Linked DNA regions of Homo sapiens: regions 1, 2, 3, 5 and 6 are each linked to region 4. The links are contacts of gene promoters, found by promoter capture Hi-C in blood cells and fetal thymus (Javierre and others, 2016). All regions are on one chromosome and are shown on one strand. Each heading gives the region's core, a stretch centred on a gene start or on the middle of the fragment in contact. The rest is flanking DNA. Distances are from core to core; before and after follow the strand shown.

Region 1 (3,175 bases), core at 501-3,000, 320 kb before region 4:
AAAAAAATAGATGGGGAAAATAATTGACTTGAATTATATTTATTTTAAAAAGACTGTTTCTAGTTGTTTTGAATGAATCCAGAACCCATAAATTATATCCCAGAATACTGAAAGAATCTGATGAAATAACACGACCTTCGACAGTAAATCTGAGTCAAGATGATTTGGTTGAGGTAGATACAGACAGATAGAAGCTTCACAAGCACAAGAATACTGTTCCCTGGCCTATCCACAGCTTTGAGCATACTGCCTGGCATGTATTAATGGCTTGATAAGTGTCCCTGACAAAATTCCAAAATCTATTTTTTTGAAGTTTGTGGACAGGTAGAAAAGAAAGCAATGGCCACTAGGAGGCAGCATCGATTTATGAAGACTAAGCACGTCTCATGGTTTCCCACTATACAGAGGAATGAAGATCACATCAAAGCATCTGACCAAATCTCACATCAATAATCCCTATAAACAGGATGGAGCATAAGTACTAGATATCTCACAATTAAATGAATTTGTCGCTAGTTTAATGGGAGCACTATGCTATTTAATGGGTATCAATCTAAATGGAGATAGCTTTACCTTATCAACATTTTTTTCAGTATTACATGTAGACAGAAAGGAATTTTTATCAAATTTGCCCATGACTTAAAACTGAGATTCACAGCCCAAGTTTTTTTAAACCCAAAATAAGTAAAATTTAATTTAATAAAATTAAATCTATATGAGGTAATGACTATACAAGTACAGAATGGAGAGGTTCCTCTTTACATGTGAAAGACCTTTGAGTTTACACTTTCAAACTCCTTGAGTCAAGAATATTCGCTGACATAGAAACAAATTTTATTGTACATTTCTTAATACTGTAAACTTACACGTACTTCCCACATAACCTCAATTCCTCATCTATTCTCTTGTAGAGATATGGTAGTCAGTGGGACAGACGCTTAAAAAGCTGACAAGACCTATATTTTTAACTTTTATACATTGGCCTTTGACTACCTGGAATAGTATTAAATAGCTGTTTACGGTTATGTCCTCAAAATCATACCAAATGTTTAAAATGCAGTCTAATGCTACTTTTTACAACCCAAGAAGATAGCTGTTATTATCCTTATCTTGAATAAGATCCTGTGTTTGAAATCAATTCTGTGGGGTTAGAGACTCATCCCAGCAGGTAAGTGCTAGGTCTTTTAATAATTCCACCACTTTCCTTCGCTGTTTAGTGACTATTCCTTTTTGCTCCATTACACAGCTGCTGAACCACAACGAGTAGGGCCCAAGAAAATTTTTAAAGCACCTTAGGTAATTGTAATGAAAACGGCCCACAATGCAGGTTTGGGAACTGCGTTAGATCATCTGAATATTTCTCATCAGGCTTCTGATAGATGCTTGATAGCAGATTTTAAGACTATACTTTCTGATAACAGGCAGTATTGTATAAAAAGCTGAAAGACCTAGTTGAATTTGAGCACTGTTACTTACTAGTGCTACCTCTTACAAGTCACTTGACCCTGCTGAGCCTCAATTTTCCCATATATAAAATGATCATTGTAAGCACTCAGCACCAGGCCTGGCACATGATATGCACTCAATAAATACTACCTACTAATTTTGAAGATGAAGGCCCAGAATATACTAACTATATTGTCAGTTAAGAGTTGCCTTACAACCCTGGCTACTAAATTGTCTGGTTCACATGCCATTACAAAGGGCCTTTACTTTCTCATTCCCATGATGAATCTCAGGTTACACGGCTGAGGAAAATGTTGACATCGTTATTCTGTATTTGCATTAAATACCATTTAAAAGTTGTTTTTATCATACTTATATCTCACATTATTACCTTAAAAATTCCGAAGGATGTTATAAAGTTGTTAAACAGGATGTTTAAGCAAATATTAGTAAAACTTTCTCTCTTGCTCTTCTGGGATCAAGATTTGTAATATTTAGCCAAAACTGTCAGCATGTGAGGCCAAGTTACCAAAGTGCTTTGACATAAAAGCAATGTTATTTTAAACTATTAGTTTAGATAGTATCTTGTCAGTTAAAAAAAAAAAAGTCCCTTTTGCAGTTAATTGCCCTTTCCAAATAACTTTAATGAAAATATCTTGCCAAGAAACATCTCTTTGATTCATTAAGCTGGGTTTAGATTGTGCCTGAGTCACAAAGCACAGAGGTAATTACAGGTTGAAATTGATTTGCGCCTCTTTATAAATAAGAACTGATTATAGAATAAATGTCTCATTAAATATAAAATATTGACACTGTATATTAATTATGTTACTACTCATGGTTGTGGCTCCCTTACAATTCTCATGCAAAAATAAATCCAATTTTAATCGGTTGTGAGAAAACAGTCCACCATGTGCTTGTATCCAGGAATAAAGAATTACATAGATTATCTGGCATATTGTCATCACATCCTCTGTAACTATTCATAAAAACAATAATTCACATTTTGGGAATGCTTTTTCCAACATCAATCAGGAAAATACAGCTTTATAAGGTGTTTCAGATTGCAAGAATACATCACATTAGAAACCCATTATCATGAGGGACAGGACTGGTTTTTATTTGTTTATGTGTAATGTGTTGATATGCCAAGTATTTTGAGAAAAGATCTGACTCTGGACTTCATTTGTACTGTTAGAATGCATTTTTCTTAGCAACTGAACAATGTGTATTCTTATTTAATTTTTGGAATTACTTTACCAATTCAAAATGCCATATACTACAATATTTCATTCACAGTCCCTAAATTTGCCTGTTTGCCTTACCCACTTTCCATCATTTTATTAATAAATTGATTATAAAACATTATACTACAAGTCAAGTACTTATGAATAGCCAATACTAGCTAACTTCTCTAATTCTCCCAGAGACAGCCCTTAACATCAACCAAATAATTCTAGAGAATAGTGCTTCTCCCCTTATAAGGCTGATTTGAGTGAAGATATTTTCCTCCCCCAAAAAGCTATTATGTTTAATAAGTATGAAGTTTAAAATATTTTAAAATATGAATGAAACCCACCTCTAAACTCTCTATAAGGATCTATTCCAGAATTTATACAAATTGTTCATTTTTTCTTATTGAACTTGTATTAAGCCAAGGGTCAGCAACTATGCCTTCAAGCCCAATCCAACCCCCACCTCCATTTTTATAAATGAAGTTTTACTGGAA
Region 2 (3,134 bases), core at 36-2,535, 340 kb before region 4:
GACTTGTGCTGACTTAGTCACATCAGCAAAGACCCAACAAGCCATGAAAAGCAAGGTGCAAGGAGTCTCCACGGGAACCACTGGTTGAAAGATGGGGTCTGCAGTAATAGGCGGTATAGACCAAATCTTGCTGTTGGTCTAGGGAACCTGTTCACATAAAGATAACCCAAATGAGAATAACCAGAACCTATTTTTTCAGAGTTTGCATAGCAAGGGAGTCAGCCATCATTACTTGCATCTGACAGAGACTCAAAGGCAAAAAGGAAAATGAAAAAACTTTAATGGTGAAAAAAAGAAAAGGCTTCTGGTTTGCTCTGATTGGGGGTTGTTGGCTGACTAGAAATGGGGCAACTTATGTGATTGGTTTGAGGATCTATTTGGTTTTCTCTGGTTGGTTCTGGTTGGAGTGAGGCAAAATACTGGCAGTCACTGACCATTCTGGGCTGATGGCTGCAGAGGCTGTGGGTCAGAGTTCTACTTTCATACATGGTCTGGCCATTGTCTATTTGTACATTCACTCTCTGACACATATTCTATTATTATATCTTTGCCTCCTGATTTTTAAGTTTTAAATCTTCAGAAAATGTGTCTATTTAATGAGTTATTATTAAAGTTTTTAAATTATTTTTTCTGTCATGTACAAACATTATAAGAGAAAAATTCTCCATATTGTATGCCTCCTTAATATATTTACTATTTCCATTGATAATCTTAGTAACAGAATGAAAATGATATAGTAGATTCAAATTCCTACTTAGCCACTTAGAAGCATAATAATTTTCAAGCTTCTTAACTGCTAGGGTTTGAATGCATCTCCTCCAAAGTTTATGTTGAAACTCACTTCCCAACCCAGCAGTATTAAGAGGGGCCTTTTGGAGGTGATTAGGCTATGAAGGCTCTGCCCTCATGGATGAGATTACTGCCTTATAGAAGGTCTGGAGATAACTATCTTGGCCCTTTTAACTCTTTCTTTCTGTCTGTCATGTGAGGATACAGTATTTGTCCCCTCTAGAGGACACAGTGTTTAAGACATCATCTTGAAAGCAGACACTGGGCTCTCAGCAGACACCAAAACTGCTGGCACCTTGATCTTGGAATTCCCAGCCTCTAGAACTGTAAGAAATAAATTTCTATTGTTTATAAATTATCCAGTCTCAAGGAATTTTGTCATAGCAGCACAAACAGACTAAGACATTAACCATAGCTCCATTTCGTTCGATGTAATATAAAGATGATGTACTGGTCACTTCCCAGGACCGACCTCATAAAGGAGAACCTTTTCTCCTTTACCCTATGTGTATACTACTTCAGAATCCTTGGAACCATGTATCTTTGATATAAATTGCACTCATTGGCTACACATTTGATTCCTTCAAATCTTTTAAGTGTATCTCTATGATTGAATTCATGACACTCATTTGACATTAGGGTTAAAATTTAAAGGTAAGGTTTTATGGAATGAGACAGAGCCAGAAGAGGACAGGAGGAGTGATTCTGCTGAATACCTTTTTTTCTTTACATCTAGACTGCGTACTTTTCTTCTTTCTTATAAGTTTCCCTTGGAGATGTGCTGCCACACTCTCTGAAAACACAGCTGGGACATGGGTTGCTGAATGGGCTCTCAATCATTAATCATCCCCTTTACCTTCAAGAAACATATGCGGAAGAGCCCAGAGGGAAGTGGGAAGAGAATATGCTCCGGAACTGAGGTAGCTGCTATTAAAGTGGGATAAGGAGACTCTTAAAAAAACAATTGTTAAGTGCAAGATGCCAGGGGAAGCTTACTGGGACGAGACTTTCAGGGTCCTGGCGCCCTGGTCGGCACGGGCCAGATCCTGTGCAAGCCTGCTTGTCCACAGGCACCGCCTTCCTTTGAACGCCTCAGCATCTGCTCTACCTCCAGACCTAGCAAAGACCACCACCGCTAGAGCCGGCGTGCTTGGTCTGCGCATGCGCGCTGGGTCTGCGCCCACCAAAAGGACGCGCGCATGGGCAAACCTGCCATTTACGGAGTTGGGCGTGGCGTCCTTGCCCGCCTCAGAAGTCATGATTTGTAAGCAGCAGGGCTTTGCTGCGGCGGGGCCACGGCGAGACCTGCTTCTTTGACCCAGCGCTAGTGTAAGGGTTCCTGCGAAAAGCAGAGAAGAGAGTTGTGCGTCTGGACTTGTCCGCGGTATCCTGAACCCTCTCCCCAGAGAGATGAAATGGTTTGTTCTCCCGTAGAATAAAGGGACAGTGGCCCCCGGCTCCTCTGGGGCTAGAGGAGAGGCCTCTCAGGGCGCTGGCTAGAGACGAGGGATGGGAACCGTGCCCCATGACAGAGCTCGGGAAAATCCACCGGGGTGCCGCGTGGGAAACGTGGCGAAAGTGCAGCACAGTGTTTTGATGAGGATCTATGGGCTCAACCTAGGAGTCAAAAAGGACAGGTAACAGGACGGCGCAGACAGGCCCCGTGGAGCTGAGCCCAGGACGGATTCTAGGAGAGGCGCACTCCGACCTCGACTCCATCGCTGCGGAGCTGGTCAAGTCCTCAAGTTCTGAGAGGCCTGTTCTGTCCTTCTAAGGCTCCTTCAGTCAGGGACACCGAAGCACCTAAAACAGTAACTGCACACAGAGTCCAGGCCAAGTGTGCCTGTCAGTCTTTCATGAATCAAATCTTTTAAAACAGCACAAGGGATTGGGGGCGGGTGGGGAACAGGGGGTTCGGGGGACAACACACCTTTATCTGGATCCTTGTCTTTTCACAACTCACCATTATAGGCCACTTGATTGACAACTTTAAAGTGGTTTCATTAAATATAAATACCAATAGAAATAAAGTATATACACCATCATTTCCATTTTAGTAGACACATTTCTGATGATCAAATATTAGCATATTGTAGAAAAGTATGTAATAAGAGAAAAAACTCCCATAACATATTCACTTATGAATTAAGAATATTTTTGATGAAGTCAACATACTTTTTTGTTTTTTTGTTTGTTTTGAGACTGAGCCTCACTCTGTCGCCAGGCTGGGGTGCAGTGGTGCGATCTCGTCTCACTGCAACCTCCAACTCCTGGGTTCAAGGCTGACGTTCGAGTGCCTCAGCCTCCCGAGTAGCTGGGATTACATGTAAGCCCCATCACACCCA
Region 3 (3,210 bases), core at 113-2,612, 280 kb before region 4:
CCAGTATAACATTCTGTGCTCTTGGCTTCATACTCTTCCTATATCTAATTCAAGTACCATTTTCATTAGTTTTGACTTGCAGGTTATCTAAGTGGACTCCTTATAGGGAAAAGTAGTCCCACTGCAGAAGATTGGTTTTTATTGTTTTGTTTTGTTTTTTGCCTTTTGGTAAATGGCCTAATGGATTTTACATTTTATCAAAATAATTCCTAGGTCATTGTTACTAAATTTTGATTTGCTTAGGAAAACTGAGATTTAAACATTTTAAAAATTAAGGTTATCTCATCCATGTAACTTTCTGTATTGCTTTAAAAGTCCTTGTGCTGTCAAGTTACAGGGCTTTGATGCATGGGTCTAAAAAGGACACTAAGTCCTGCTAAATCTCAACACTGACAACAATTAAAGCCTCATTTTCAGACCTGGGAGAAAATGACAATCAAAATACACCATGTTCATGAGACACAGAGCCAGAAATTAAAACTATTCAATACCTCTGGACCCAGGGACTATTGCAGAACAGGTGGACATTTGAGGTTGTAAGGGCCAATTTTGAGAGACAAAATTTGTTCAGAGTTTCTCTGTAAATTAAACATTAATATCAAAAGCACACTAATGCAAACCAGCATCTAGGCCCCTGTGTCAGATTAACAAGGTTTTCTTGAAGCACTAACCAACTATTTAATAAAAAATTATAGGAGGTTATAAAAAGGTATATGAAAATTATATCTTTTAGTCAAGATATTTAAAATTTAATACATTTGTTTGTAAGATTTGAGAGACAGATTTAGTTGGCCTCATGCTGTCTTTTCAAGGGCTTGTTGTTTGGGAAATTAAGGCCTCCTCTCTCAATAAAGATTTTTGCCTTTTCTTGGAAATCTTTGAGTTATAATTTTGGCTAAATGAATGACTTATTTTACAATAACCTGTGATTCTACTATGTGATATGAAGTGTTTTAAGCTTTTTATATTTGACAAACTTTCTAATATCAAATTTTAAATTCAGTTCTGTTGACTTCATTAATTTTTGATATTAGGTCTTCTGAAGCCCAAAAGAGACATGTTCAGCTTATTTGGTATAATAAACATCATACAGAAAGCATTGTCAAATTCAAAATGGTGTTTAACCTTATTTGGATTATGTTTATATAAATGGGTTATTAGTATGTGTTCCAAAATTGTATGAGATTCCTGTGATTCTGTTATGTCTTAATATATGTTATCAGTAGCGATTATGATTATTATGTAAAATTGTTGTATGCCACAAAAGTAACCCAATTTCCTTGTCAATTCTGTCTTTAACCATGACTGTGCTAAGACCTTTGTCATCCACAATTGTTGTTTTACTTTGATCCTTCTATGGGGTGATTTATAATCAGCAATAATACTCTGAGAAGTACTCTTAAATATAAGTTTCTGGTAACTTTAGAAATTGTGCCATTGGAATAGAGAGAAAACTTCCAGGACTCTCATGGAGAGCTGATGTATTAATGAGGATTGTTGATCCAATCTAGAGCAGGCTGACCTATAGAGTTGATAAAAGCCCTTTGGAAAAACTGACCTCATACATTGTCCTTTACAAGGTCCTGACTTGTCTTAAGTAAAGAATGTCTCTTTATGATAGGCCCAGGAACCCCAAGTTTTCTTGGGACCTCAAAAAGAGAGGAATTCACCCAATTCAAACAGGTATCTGCAGGCACAGATAAATTGTTGGCTGGGCGTGAGGCTTTTAAAAAGGTCTAATCTTAGATTCCTTATGGAAAAGCTTCCAGCAAAGCCAATTTCAAAAAAGAGGGAGCCAGTATAGTAAATGATTATTCTTGCTGCACCTTATGCAAATAATCAAGCCAAGTATAATACGACTAAAACTTATTTTACAGATAAGTTTGTCCTATTATGATTTTGTGTTTAACAAAATTAGGGAATTAGAGAGAAAAAAATCATGTTTCAGAATAAACTATAGTACACTTGTTATTAGATTTTAGCCTTGTCTAGTGTTACTTAATTTTTATTATTTTTCTACAATTTGGACTGAATTCTAAAATCTTTCCTGATCAAAAGTCTCCAAAATCATGTTTTCAATTTTTTTCTTCCTTCTTTTCCTCCCCCCGCCCCTTTTTTTCTGATTAGAAATATGGAAGCTAGGCAAGTTAAATTTTGGAAGAAAATAACAGCAACCTATTTATAAACCATTTTCATACCTGCAATCTTATGTATAGACTTCAGAGTAATATGTTATTTATTACTTTTCCAGGATTGTTTTCCCTTTGTTGTTTTTTTGTTATTTTCTCCTTTTTTTCCTTTGTTTTGTTTCTCTCTTCCTCCCCCTATTTTTTCTTGTGGTAGTGAGACTACAACATGGTAAAAATGAGCTTTCATAACATGAGACCTATTTATCTAGGAATAAATTTCCCTAGCCACAAGAGATCAGACAGAACTTGAGACAAGAGACTAATTTTATTCTAAAATGCTTTCTCCAAAAGACTTTAAAAAAAAAAAAGAAAAAAAGGAGGGGGAGAAACGTGAAAGGAAAATAAATACTCGGGACTCCAACTCACTATGCCAAAAGAAAAAAATTAAGCTGAACACTGAGTCATGTAAGAAACTGCCCTTCCTTTTGTTTCTACATATATAGCTACAGACAAAAAGTTAAATATCTCCGTACATAGCAAAAAGAGAGGTCTGAAGCAGAGTGAGTTCATCCATGGATTGGGTTTTTTGTAAGATCAGCTCAAGTGAAGCAAAGAAAGGACTGGGAGTTGAAAGTATTTCAAAGGGGGAACTATATTGATTATGGGATCTGGGTTGAACAAGATGGGAAGTAATGGCAGGAGGGGACTGATGGATAAGAAAGTGGTGAGATGAAAGAGTTGAATGTCCCCACATCATTGAGAAACTATGTGGTTGTATGGAGTACTTGCATCAATGACCTGAATGCATAGGAAGTTGTAGAAGGAAAGTTAGATGTTATTATTTGAATTTTTTGAAAGGGTTGCTGCTTTTTAAGAGATGAAAAGATCCAAGGTGTGACACAGAATGGATGACTGGAGTGGAAAAAATGAAAATGTCATTGGAATATGGAAGTAAAGAAACTGAGAAGCTGAGAGTTTTTGCATCATCCAGTCAGGTATGGAAATCACCAAGGATAAAGGAAGGAACTGGGTTAGAATGGAAGACCTTTTGCCAGGAATGGAAGACTTCAGTAAATGAAGA
Region 4 (3,354 bases), core at 163-2,662:
CTTTCAGGGTCTTTGCAGAAAAGATTTTCTCTGCCCTGGTTTGTGTCATATTTGGGTCTAATTTGGAAAGTGGAGCAATTAAAGAGTCAAAACCTTTCATTAGGAGCCTGCCATTAAAAAAAGAAGAAAGAAAGAAAGAAAGAAAAAAGGAAAAAAAAAAAAAAAGCTTTGATCTGTAACCCTTGGACTGAACATTCTAGTCATTCATCTTCCAAAATTTCAAGTGCAAGATTTGGTTGTGGTTTGATTTTACGTCTTTGAGACACAGCTTGAATGTCTCAATTTGATTTTATGCATTCGACACATTTTTAGGGATCTGGTGATTTGGGAAGGGCTGTACCATATGGTCTTGGTGAGGTGATAGATTTTCACATTCTGGAAATTGGCAGCAAAGGGTAGGAACTGAATTAGATGTGGAAAGGGAAGATTAAGCGTTTGGGCCTAATTCACTCATCTCATGAAAAATCTTCTGAGACGTGTAATTCCCATAAAATCTATTTTTACAAATACGGCTTTTGTTTGATTGTTTTTGGTGTATATGTACACGTGTCCTCACACGTAGGGAGTAATTTTTTTAAATTCTCTCAAAAGTAGAGGACATGACATTTAGCTTTTAAAGCTATGACATTTAACACTTCTCAGTTAGTCCTTCAGGAGAGATCTCAGACTTAGGGGGGTCACAGAATATAAAACAGCCCGCTACACATTCCCTGAAAAGGAGATTGTATAGAAAGTTAGGAGCTGAGGGGCTGGTGCCACGTTCTAAAAGAAAACAGGACAGACAAATCGTTTTCATCTGAGAATTGTTTTTGGAGAAACACTAGAGTCAACGATAGAATAAATCAGAGCCAGGTGTGTATATATATAGGGAGGATAAAAACACCCTGGCGGCAATGAAATTTAAGAAAGAGCAATTTAAGAAGAAAGGGGTGCCCTGTGTGATTCCTCGCGGTGGGATAGAGGGAGCTGAAGTGTAGGATTTTCCCTGATCTTTCAGAGAATTCAGATTCAGGAGGCCTGACATTTAATCTGGTCTGTGCACGGATTTCTCCGGCTTGGTTGGGGTTCTGCGGAATGCAACGCTCCTCGGGCGCTTTCTGCCTTCACCTCTTCCGTGGTCTTTGATCCCCAGTCCCCGCGCAGGGCCGCAGCGGAGCCAGGTCGTGCGCCCATTTCTCGCACCTCCACGAGCCCGCGGCTGGCGCCACCGGGCGCGGGACGCGGGGCGCGGGGCGGGACCGAGGCGGGGCGCTCCGGCGCGCAGCGGGTTAAGCGGCGAGGGCGGTGGCGAGGGGCGGAGGGAGTGCCGCGGCTCCCGGCTCCCGGCTCCAGGCGCCCGCGTCCCGGACAGCAGCGGGTTAAGTGCCGCCCGCGCGGAGACGGCTGAGTCCGGAGCCGCGGCTCCGAGCTCGCATTCGGATCCGCTAGAGCAGGAAGATGGCGACGGACGGCGCGAGCTGCGAGCCCGACTTGTCCCGGGCCCCGGAGGACGCGGCGGGGGCCGCGGCGGAGGCGGCGGTAACCGAGTTCCCGGGGCGGGCGCGGGGCTAGTGTAGACGCGGGCCGGGGGCGGCGCCGGGGTCCCAGCCGGACCCGACTTCGCACCCCCGGGGCGTTCCGTAAGCCCGGGACTCTCCGGTGCCCCTTCATCGGGGCCCCCCTTCCTCGGGATGCCCACACGGCGGAGGCCGCGGGGGGGAGCGGAGCGGCCACCCTGGCTGGGGATCCCTCCTGTCCCTTCCGCGCCCCACGGGAAGCGGCCCCGGGTCGCCCGGTTCTCCCAGCTCCCTGTCTGCGTCCAGTGCGACCCCTATGCCCACTCCCTCCGCTGCGGTCGCTTCTGGCCGGGGGAGAAGGCTGGGACGTGTTTCCTGGCGAATTTGACCCCCCATTGTTCACCTCTCGCTGCGCGCGTGGTTGCCAGCGCGTGTCTCGGGGGTGCCTGGTACCGCTCAGCGGACCCGGGAGAGCAGCTTGGGGGAGGTGGGCCATCGCCCAGCAGGTGTGGGGATGCCCATTGTGTGCATCTGGTCCTGTGCCTTCGGGAGGCCCACTGGGAGAGGGCCGTGTCCAGATGTGGGCGCTGCTGCCGCTGAGGCCAGCGCTTTAGGTCCTAGCAGCCTGCTGCCCCATTACTTGGTGGTAGTGATTGGGGTGGGGTGGATGGATTGGTTCTTCCCGAGACGATGCTCAGGAGAGGTGGAGGTTCTGCACCTGGTTTCAAGACATTGTTCTCCTTCTCTGGAGTCTAGAGGCCGAATGCGCTACCATTCTTGACTGGTCCTTACTTTCACCCCCTTAATATTCCGGTGTAGAGACTCGCTGGTGGTTTCCAGCCTCTACTTTGGGGAAGGGCTGGACCCACATTTCCTGGGTGGAAAAGGTTCTCGGTGTTTGGGAAGCAGCTTCGCAGGAGCTGCAAGGAGCTGCAGAGAAAGGCAGATCTGGGAGCGCCTCCCACTCTTGGCCAGATCTGGCTGCTCCCGCCGAAGGATGGGGTGGGATGGAGCGAGCGGGGCGTGGACGCCCCCCTCTTCCTATCAAGACCTGAGCAGAATCAGTGCAGGAGAGGGCAGGGCCGGGCGTAAACAGCGGGGGCCGCTTTAACTTCCTCCCACCCTCTGGAGGTAGGGCTTTCTGGAGAGGGAGAGGAGAGATGTGGAGGAAGGTACTTGGGGTGAGAGGAGCTGAGCCTGGCAATGGAAGGAGAAACGGGGAGGAGGACTGCTAATTTCCACTTGTAAAACTGGCAAGTTTTGATTTGAACTTTTGGGAAAATTGAGTTTCCATTCTTTGCATAGAAAATGAGAACTTTAAGATTTCAAACGAAACCTGCCCACTTATGTGAATCAGCTCCCCTCTGTGGGGCACAGTAAGGAAACTAGCTATTGAGACAAGGCTCTCTGGCAAGTGGAAATGATTTGGTGCCTTCATCCCCAAAAGGTGGGAAGGGGAAGGACGAGGAAAAAGAAAGAGGGTGTGTGTGTGTGTGTGTGTGTGTGTGTGTGAAGGGGAAGGACGAAAAAGAAAGAGGGTGTGTGTGTGTGTGTGTGTGTGTGGTGTGTTTCTTGTTCCCCAGAAAGGTTGAATTTGTTTACTTAATCCACTCAGAATGGGTTTCTGTTACCCTCAATATTTTAATCACCTGACAATTAACCCAAACACAAACATCTGACTGATGGTCTGTAGAGCTGATATATAGTTTTGTTTGGTTAGATCGTAAACAAAACCCAGGACGCCAGGCAGATTTCTGTGTTAACAAGGTCAGTGTTCCCTCTCTTCTGTTTAAAATGTTCAAGTCTGATTTTCACTGCTGATAGTTGGGGATTTGATAATTTCACCCTTGTTAATGGG
Region 5 (3,276 bases), core at 99-2,598, 410 kb after region 4:
CATAAAAAAGGATGAGTTCATGTCCTTTGTAGGGACATGGATGAAGCTGGAAACCATCATTCTGAGCAAACTGTCGCAAGGACAGAAAACCAAACACCGCATGTTCTCATTCATAGGTGGGAATTGAACAATGAGAACACTTGGACACAGGATGGGGAACATCACACACCATGGCCTGTCGTGGGGTTGGGGGAGTGGGGAGGGATAGCATTAGGAGATATACCTAATGTAAATGACGAGTTAATGGGCACACCAACATGGCACATGTATACATATGTAACAAACCTGCACGTTGTGCACATGTACCCTACAACTTAAAGTATAATAATAATAATAATAAATAAATTAAATTAAACTAAATAAAAAGAAAGACAAAGGGCCTCTGACAGGCAGAGATGACTGAGAAAGATATGAGTAGAAAGGGACATACTTTTGAAATCGCACTGTTTGCATGGTTTGTGAAAAGCAGAGGAAGGAGTAAATGTGGAAAATCAGATTGAGACCTTGTTCAGAGTCTGAAATGGCAGAAAAGAAGTCCCACACCTACTATCATTGGCAAAAGGGAGTTAGTATGGGGTTTTGAGTAAGGAAATAACATCAACGTGTTGCATTTTAGAAAGAAAAAAGTAGAATAAATACACATGGTGGCCTAGTGGAAAAGGAAGACATCGTATGGGCAATCAGTAAAGAGGCTGTCACAGCAACCCTAGGCCTGAAGCTTCATCACTCTGCCTAATTGGAAGAATTTCCTTTTTGCTTAGTCCCGGGGATCCTTTCTTTGTTTTCTTCCCTACACCTATGTTCTAAGCTATAATAACTATAAGCTTGTATTCATTAGGTGACCTGAGGAAGTTCATTTTTGTCCAGTATTTGGAAATATTCCTTAGTATGACCAAGGGGAGTCCTAATACATAACCTTGCTTGACAGTTAAAAAAAGATTCTTAAAGATGAGGTAATCAATAAGCAAAGGAAAGAAGTAATTTCTAGTACTTGGAATAAGCAATATGGGGATTTATCTTCCCAGGAATTACTCAATCTCTCTCCACTACTGTACTTCCAGAACAATGCCATTATTCAAGCTGAACAGGCAAAAATCCAGGTTGCCACCTGACTTTTGATTTAACAAAGGTTACATGCAAGCTGTTCTGAACTGTTGAATTACATAGTTTATCACATCATCTAATGTTTTGAAAAAGATGTTTTATTATTAATTAAATTTAAAGTTTCAAGAGAAAATATCCTAATATACTTACTAAAACTATATTTAAACATTCCTGTAAGGTATATTATTGAAAAAAAAAAAAAAAAAAAAAAACTCCATCACATCCCATTTGAGTTTCCTTCAGTTATGTTTATAAGATACATTACTTGATTAATAAAACTGAAAACCATGCTTAACAACTCTGCATGTTGAAGGAAATGACCAAATGGCTATATTAAGATGTCTATGGAAAACATTCACATAAACTTACCCATAATTGAATTAGAAAACCATAAAAGGAAAAAGTCTAATTAATTGAATTACCCAAAATAAAAGGGGACATTTTTATCACTTCAAAATATAAAGAATATTCAGACTTTTCAAGTCTGAATTTATAATTGGTTTATAAACAATTAAAAATTCAAAGTACAAATTTCATTGGAGATTCATTAAACCAAATATATGTAAGAAATTAAAATTTATACTTAGATCAATTATTTTCAAAATAGCATAACTAAAGAGAAAACAAAATAGCTCACTTTGTAAATGTATCAGAGAAGTGTTTTAAATAGTTGAATAGAGGACGAGATACTTTTATAGTATTTTCTTCTCTCTTCCTTACCTGCCCTCTGCTGGTGAAAAGAGAAAAGTGAAAAGTAAAGAAGCTTCAAACAACATCCCGGAAAAGCACACTTTTATACAAAAAAAATTTAGTGTTATAACATTTTTCATTATACCAGATTAATTTGCCATCATATTATCCCACCACTCTTCTTGGAAGCAATATTCATACATTAAATGTTGCCTGTGAGTTAGGATTGGCGTAAAAAAAATTAGGAGGCTTTGGAAATATTTCACTATTTTAACAAAGTTTAGGTAAATGACCATGCTAAAATAAGAGTACAAACATCTAACAGACATCTAAAAATATTATGAAAGATATTTTATGTCATTTCTTTCTTTTTTTCTTTTTTGAAACTGAGTCTCACTCTTTGTTGCCCAGGCTGAAGTGCAGTGGCGCGATCTCGGCTCAGTGCGACCTCCGCCTCCTGCGTTCAAGCGATTCTCCTGTCTCAGCCTCCCGAGGAGCTGGGATTACGGGTGCCCACCACGATGGCTGGCTAATTTTTGTATTCTTAGTAGAGATGGGGTTTCACCACGTTGGCCAGGCTGGTCTCAAACTCCTGACCTCAGGTGGTCCACCCACCTTGGCCTCCCAAAGTGCTGGGATTACAGGCGTGAGGCACTGCGCCCAGCCATTTTATGTCATTTCTATCTTTACATTCTTATTGACCAAATAAGCATGGACTAGATGTGAGTTCCATTAGCACTAGTCATAATTGACTGAATGACCATGTCCAAAAGGGTCTAATGGATCACTGTGAGCCAAGATAGAAGTTAATAAGGATGGTCTACAGGGCTTCATCTTTAGTCCTCCCTGACCAACATTTTCACCAATGTTGAATATAAAATTAAGTAAATCCCAATCCATAAAGATTTCAACAGACTGGAAATTGAACAAATTGTACCAAAATAAAACAGGAATTACTACATAGGTTCAAAATTTGCACAAGCATGAGGTTTGTAGTGGTACCATTTGTGAAAGAGACTCTGATATTTCAGTTAGCAGCAAACTCAAGAGTAAAGTGGGATGCAAATATCAAAAAATTGATAATAATTTATATCTTAGGTGCTTGATATGTGCCAAACCTACGTTGAGCAGTTCATATATGTTCTAAAACCCCAGTCTAAAACAAATTTGGATCAGTGATTGACTCATTTACTGCCCAGCTGTCATGCTAAAAAAGGAATGAGCTAGAATTCTTTTACTGGGGGAGAAGGATTAGGAAATGACTGTCTGTGTATTTTTCAGATTGTCCCAATACAAAACTTAATTTGTTACGTGCAGCATAAGTTTCAGTATTTTTATATTGTGCTTATTATAAAAGTACAGACTCACCGATTACACAATATGGCAGCCCTACATTTTAGGTAACTGGAACTTTTAGACCCACCTAGGGCCAATTTTTCCTTCTAAAGTTAATTTTTTTGAAATTTAATATACATACAGAAA
Region 6 (3,425 bases), core at 464-2,963, 300 kb before region 4:
CTTATAGATGACACTTTCTTGCTGCATCCTCACATGGCAGAAGGGGGCAAGGCTGCTCCGTTCAACCTCTTCAGTAAGGGCACTAATCCTGTTCATGAGGGCAGAGTCCTTATGACTTACTTCCCAAAAGACCCCATCTCTTAATGCTATCATATTGGATATTAGGTTCCAACATATGAATTTTGGAGGACACCAGTATCCAGACCACAGCAGAAGCCAAAAAATGACAAAACATTCTGGCTATAATATGCTGTGTATAATACATTCCTGAAAATCTTCACATTTTAAGAAAATGGCTCACTTAAAATAAGAGCCTAAGGAAAAAATAAGTCTGGGAAAGCCCTCTCAAACTCTGAACAACTGAGCGGTGGTTCCCAAACTTTGCTACTTACTGATATGATCTTTAAAAACTGATAGCTGGCTCCCACACTCAAGACATTCTGAGTTAAATAGAATGAGGTTCAGCTGGGCCTCAGTATTCTAAAACATCCGTAGTTAACTAATAAACAACAAAGTCTGGCAACCACTGAACTGTAGTATTAACAGACAATAACAACCGAAATGAAAATAGTAGTTCATTTAGAAGGACGTGTAAAACTCCTAACAAATAAAGCAATGTTATATTAACTTAAAGAGTTTTACCTTTTTAAAAAAGTTGAAGGTTGCTTAAAGAATGACAGTTTACAGAAGGGTAGACACTGATGAGTGATGGAAACAAGGGCGGGAGATCATCAGAAGTAGCAGATGGAGAAGCAGTTGCAAACTTTGCAGGAAATGTGGAGTTGCCAGAGATGGATGGCTCTGACTCGTTGTCTGATGTCGCTTTTGCCCAAAGATGTGAGGGAGCTGCAAAATAAGCACTATCAAAATGGAGCATATGGCTGAACCAAGCCCAGGGAAGAATGGGGTCCCACACCGTGAAAGGTCATCATTTGAGTGCTATACTCCCCCAGGCCTGGTTCAATCACAAAACTAAGTGCAATAATTGTACTTCAGCTATTGTGTCTTTGTACTACAAAGCATTAAAGTGCTATGAAAAATTATGTATGAACCAACCCACTTTCCCTATTATTCTAACATTACTCTCCTGTTTAACAATCTCATGTGACCTCATGTGTACTATAAAAAACAGTACTCGGCTGGGTGTAGTGGCTCATGCCTTTAACCCCAGCACTTTGGAAGGCCAAGGCAGGCAGATTACTTGAGCTCAGGAGTTCCAGACCAGCCTGGGCAATGTGGTGAAATCCTGTCACTACAAAAAATTAGCCAGGCGTGATGATGCGCACCTGTAGTCCCAGCTACTCAGGAGGCTGAAGTGGGAGGATTCCTTGAGACCAGGAGGCAAAGATTGCAGTAAGCCAAGATCTTCTCACTGCACTCCAGCCTGGGTGATAGAGCTAGACCCTGTCTCAAAAATAAAAAATAAAAAAGACAATACTGTAACATAACAGACTATGTTAGTATTCCACTGAGAATCTGGAGTTTAAATAATGTCATCCTGCCCCTGTTTTACTTATCTCCTTCTGTGGTTCATACTGTCCTTTAGCACCAAGTAATTCTTTAGGTAGGCAGTTCTTCCACCTCTGACTTTGCCCTAGAAGGGTACTTGAATTCGTATAACTTGGGCAGCTTTATTTAAATAGCACATACAGCATATGACTAATCCAAATGGAGCACCCATACCTGATCATTTTTCAATATCTTTTTTTAAAAAATAAATTACCATGTATGTGTTATCACTATAGTGAACCAGATTAGGGAACTTTATTTTAAGCTGAGTACATTTGCTTTCTTTTTTATTGTTTTGCTTGGCTTTTAAAAATTGTCTTTAGCAGCTTGGATTGCAATACAGGTAAAATTATACTGTCATTTCCATTGAATTTTTTGCATGCCAAAATTGGAAAATAATATTGATATCAGAAATTACTTAGGTCACTAGGATCTTCAGTCTGAATTCATTCCTTAATGTTATAATCCACACAGAAGGAACAGATTGATTTGGACTTGTTGCAGACATTGTATGGCAAGGTAGAGCAATGCTAATTTATTGATTTTTTTTTTTTGGAGAAAAATACTGAGGTTAGGCAATGAGAGATGAATAATGTAAGAAGGTATATAGAAATGTAAATGGAATAGTGAGAGTGAAGTATAAGAATTACATTGACAAAAGCTAAACATAAATAACCTTGAGTGACCAATAGAAAGCAAATGCCTGAAATTACATTAAAACACATGGGGAGCAAATAAGGGTTGAAAATTACTTATTGGGTACAATGCTCACTACTCAGGTGATGGGTGCACTAAAAGCCCAGATTTCATATATGCATGTAAGAAAGCTGCACTTGTACCCCCTAAATATTAAAAAAAAATTTTAAATTAAAAACATATGGGGCAGAAAAAAATCAAGGCTTTCCCTTATTTTTGATAAATTCTCATTATATAAGTTTTGTTTCATTTTTGTAACAAATCAGAATGACTCTCCCACTTCCACCCTTTTTCTTTCAGACTATGGATCACAGATATTTAGAGCTAAAAGGGAACCTAAGAATTTTCAAATTTACATTCTGTGTCATGTGGATTAGGAAACTGAATCCCAAATAAGTTCATTGACTCTTTTAGGGTTACATAGTAGAACCTACAATCAAGGCCTCCTGGATTCTAGTTCAGTGCTTCTTACAATAGTTAATAATAAAAGTAACTGTTCTACTTGAAGGACAAAATTTTGAGTTTATATGTACATATGATCAGCGCATATCCATGGATACGTCATTGCTATTGTATGTAGACTTTTTCGGAAATCAGAAGGAATATGTATACCTTTGAGTCCAAATACTCAAAGGCAGGTTGACATTTTTCAGATGTCACTACCAATGGGAAGAATAGGAAAGGCAACTAAGATATTGTGGAAGGTAGAATAATCTCTCCTACCCCCCCAACCCCCAAAGATGTCCACATCCTAATCCCTGGGAACTGTGATTGTTACTTTACATGTCAAACAGCACTTTTCAAATGTGATTGAAGGTAAGGACCTCGAGATGGTGAGGTTATTCTGGATTACTCAGCTGGCCCCCTCTAATCATGAGTCCTTAAATGCGGAAGAGGGAATCAGAAGAGTGGGTCTGAGAGATGTGACATGAAAAGACTTGTCCTGCTGTTGATGGGCTTTGAAGTTGGAGGAAGAGGGCCATGAGCCAAGAAATGTGGTTATCTTTAGAAGCTGAGAACAGCTCTTAGTTTATAGCCAGCAAGAAAACAGGGACCTTGGTCCTACAACAGCAAGAAACTGAATTCTGCCAAAATCTAAGTGAGCAGGAAATGGATTCTTCCCTACAGCCTCCTTCTGGAGGCATACATTCTACTAACACCTTGATTTAAGTCCAGTCAGACCCATATCAGACTTACAGAACTGTAAGTTAATAAAGTTT

Evidence for each region. Contacts are between HindIII fragments. The CHiCAGO score rates a contact against its expected background, and 5 or more counts as called.
Region 1: a contact is called between a fragment that was not itself captured here and the fragment with the promoter of CTTNBP2 in region 4, in 1 of 17 cell types (megakaryocytes). The highest score is 7.1, in megakaryocytes.
Region 2: a fragment that was not itself captured here is called in contact with the fragment with the promoter of CTTNBP2 in region 4 in 1 of 17 cell types (megakaryocytes); the score reaches 5.4 in megakaryocytes.
Region 3: a fragment that was not itself captured here is called in contact with the fragment with the promoter of CTTNBP2 in region 4 in 1 of 17 cell types (megakaryocytes); the score reaches 11.0 in megakaryocytes.
Region 5: a contact is called between a fragment that was not itself captured here and the fragment with the promoter of CTTNBP2 in region 4, in 3 of 17 cell types (megakaryocytes, erythroblasts and M2 macrophages). The highest score is 11.5, in megakaryocytes.
Region 6: a contact is called between a fragment that was not itself captured here and the fragment with the promoter of CTTNBP2 in region 4, in 2 of 17 cell types (megakaryocytes and erythroblasts). The highest score is 7.9, in megakaryocytes.

Annotation. Positions count from the first base shown.
Region 1 is chr7:118,193,241-118,196,415 of GRCh38, reverse strand. LSM8 (LSM8 homolog, U6 small nuclear RNA associated) reads right to left here. Exons shown (of 4, transcript NM_016200.5): 4 at 1-3,175. Among named protein-coding and RNA genes, the nearest start is that of LSM8, 11 kb to the right of the region's middle. RefSeq lists an enhancer at 329-388. The HindIII fragment of the contact is 3,107 bases long and covers 197-3,175 here.
Region 2 is chr7:118,213,456-118,216,589 of GRCh38, reverse strand. No RefSeq gene overlaps it. Among named protein-coding and RNA genes, the nearest start is that of ANKRD7, 9.7 kb to the left of the region's middle. The HindIII fragment of the contact is 995 bases long and covers 788-1,782 here.
Region 3 is chr7:118,155,346-118,158,555 of GRCh38, reverse strand. It overlaps LOC105375470 (a long non-coding RNA gene), which reads left to right. Exons shown (of 4, transcript XR_927904.3): 3 at 2,988-3,124. Among named protein-coding and RNA genes, the nearest start is that of LSM8, 27 kb to the left of the region's middle. The HindIII fragment of the contact is 804 bases long and covers 961-1,764 here.
Region 4 is chr7:117,871,499-117,874,852 of GRCh38, reverse strand. It overlaps CTTNBP2 (cortactin binding protein 2), which reads left to right and starts at 1,412. Exons shown (of 23, transcript NM_033427.3): 1 at 1,412-1,518. The coding sequence starts at 1,438. The HindIII fragment of the contact is 3,697 bases long and covers 169-3,354 here.
Region 5 is chr7:117,457,739-117,461,014 of GRCh38, reverse strand. All of the region lies in intron 1 of LOC105375468 (a long non-coding RNA gene), which reads right to left. Among named protein-coding and RNA genes, the nearest start is that of CFTR, 21 kb to the left of the region's middle. RefSeq lists a cis regulatory region at 1,825-1,838. The HindIII fragment of the contact is 1,043 bases long and covers 827-1,869 here.
Region 6 is chr7:118,175,676-118,179,100 of GRCh38, reverse strand. All of the region lies in intron 1 of LOC105375470 (a long non-coding RNA gene), which reads left to right. Among named protein-coding and RNA genes, the nearest start is that of LSM8, 6.8 kb to the left of the region's middle. The HindIII fragment of the contact is 7,095 bases long and covers 1-3,425 here.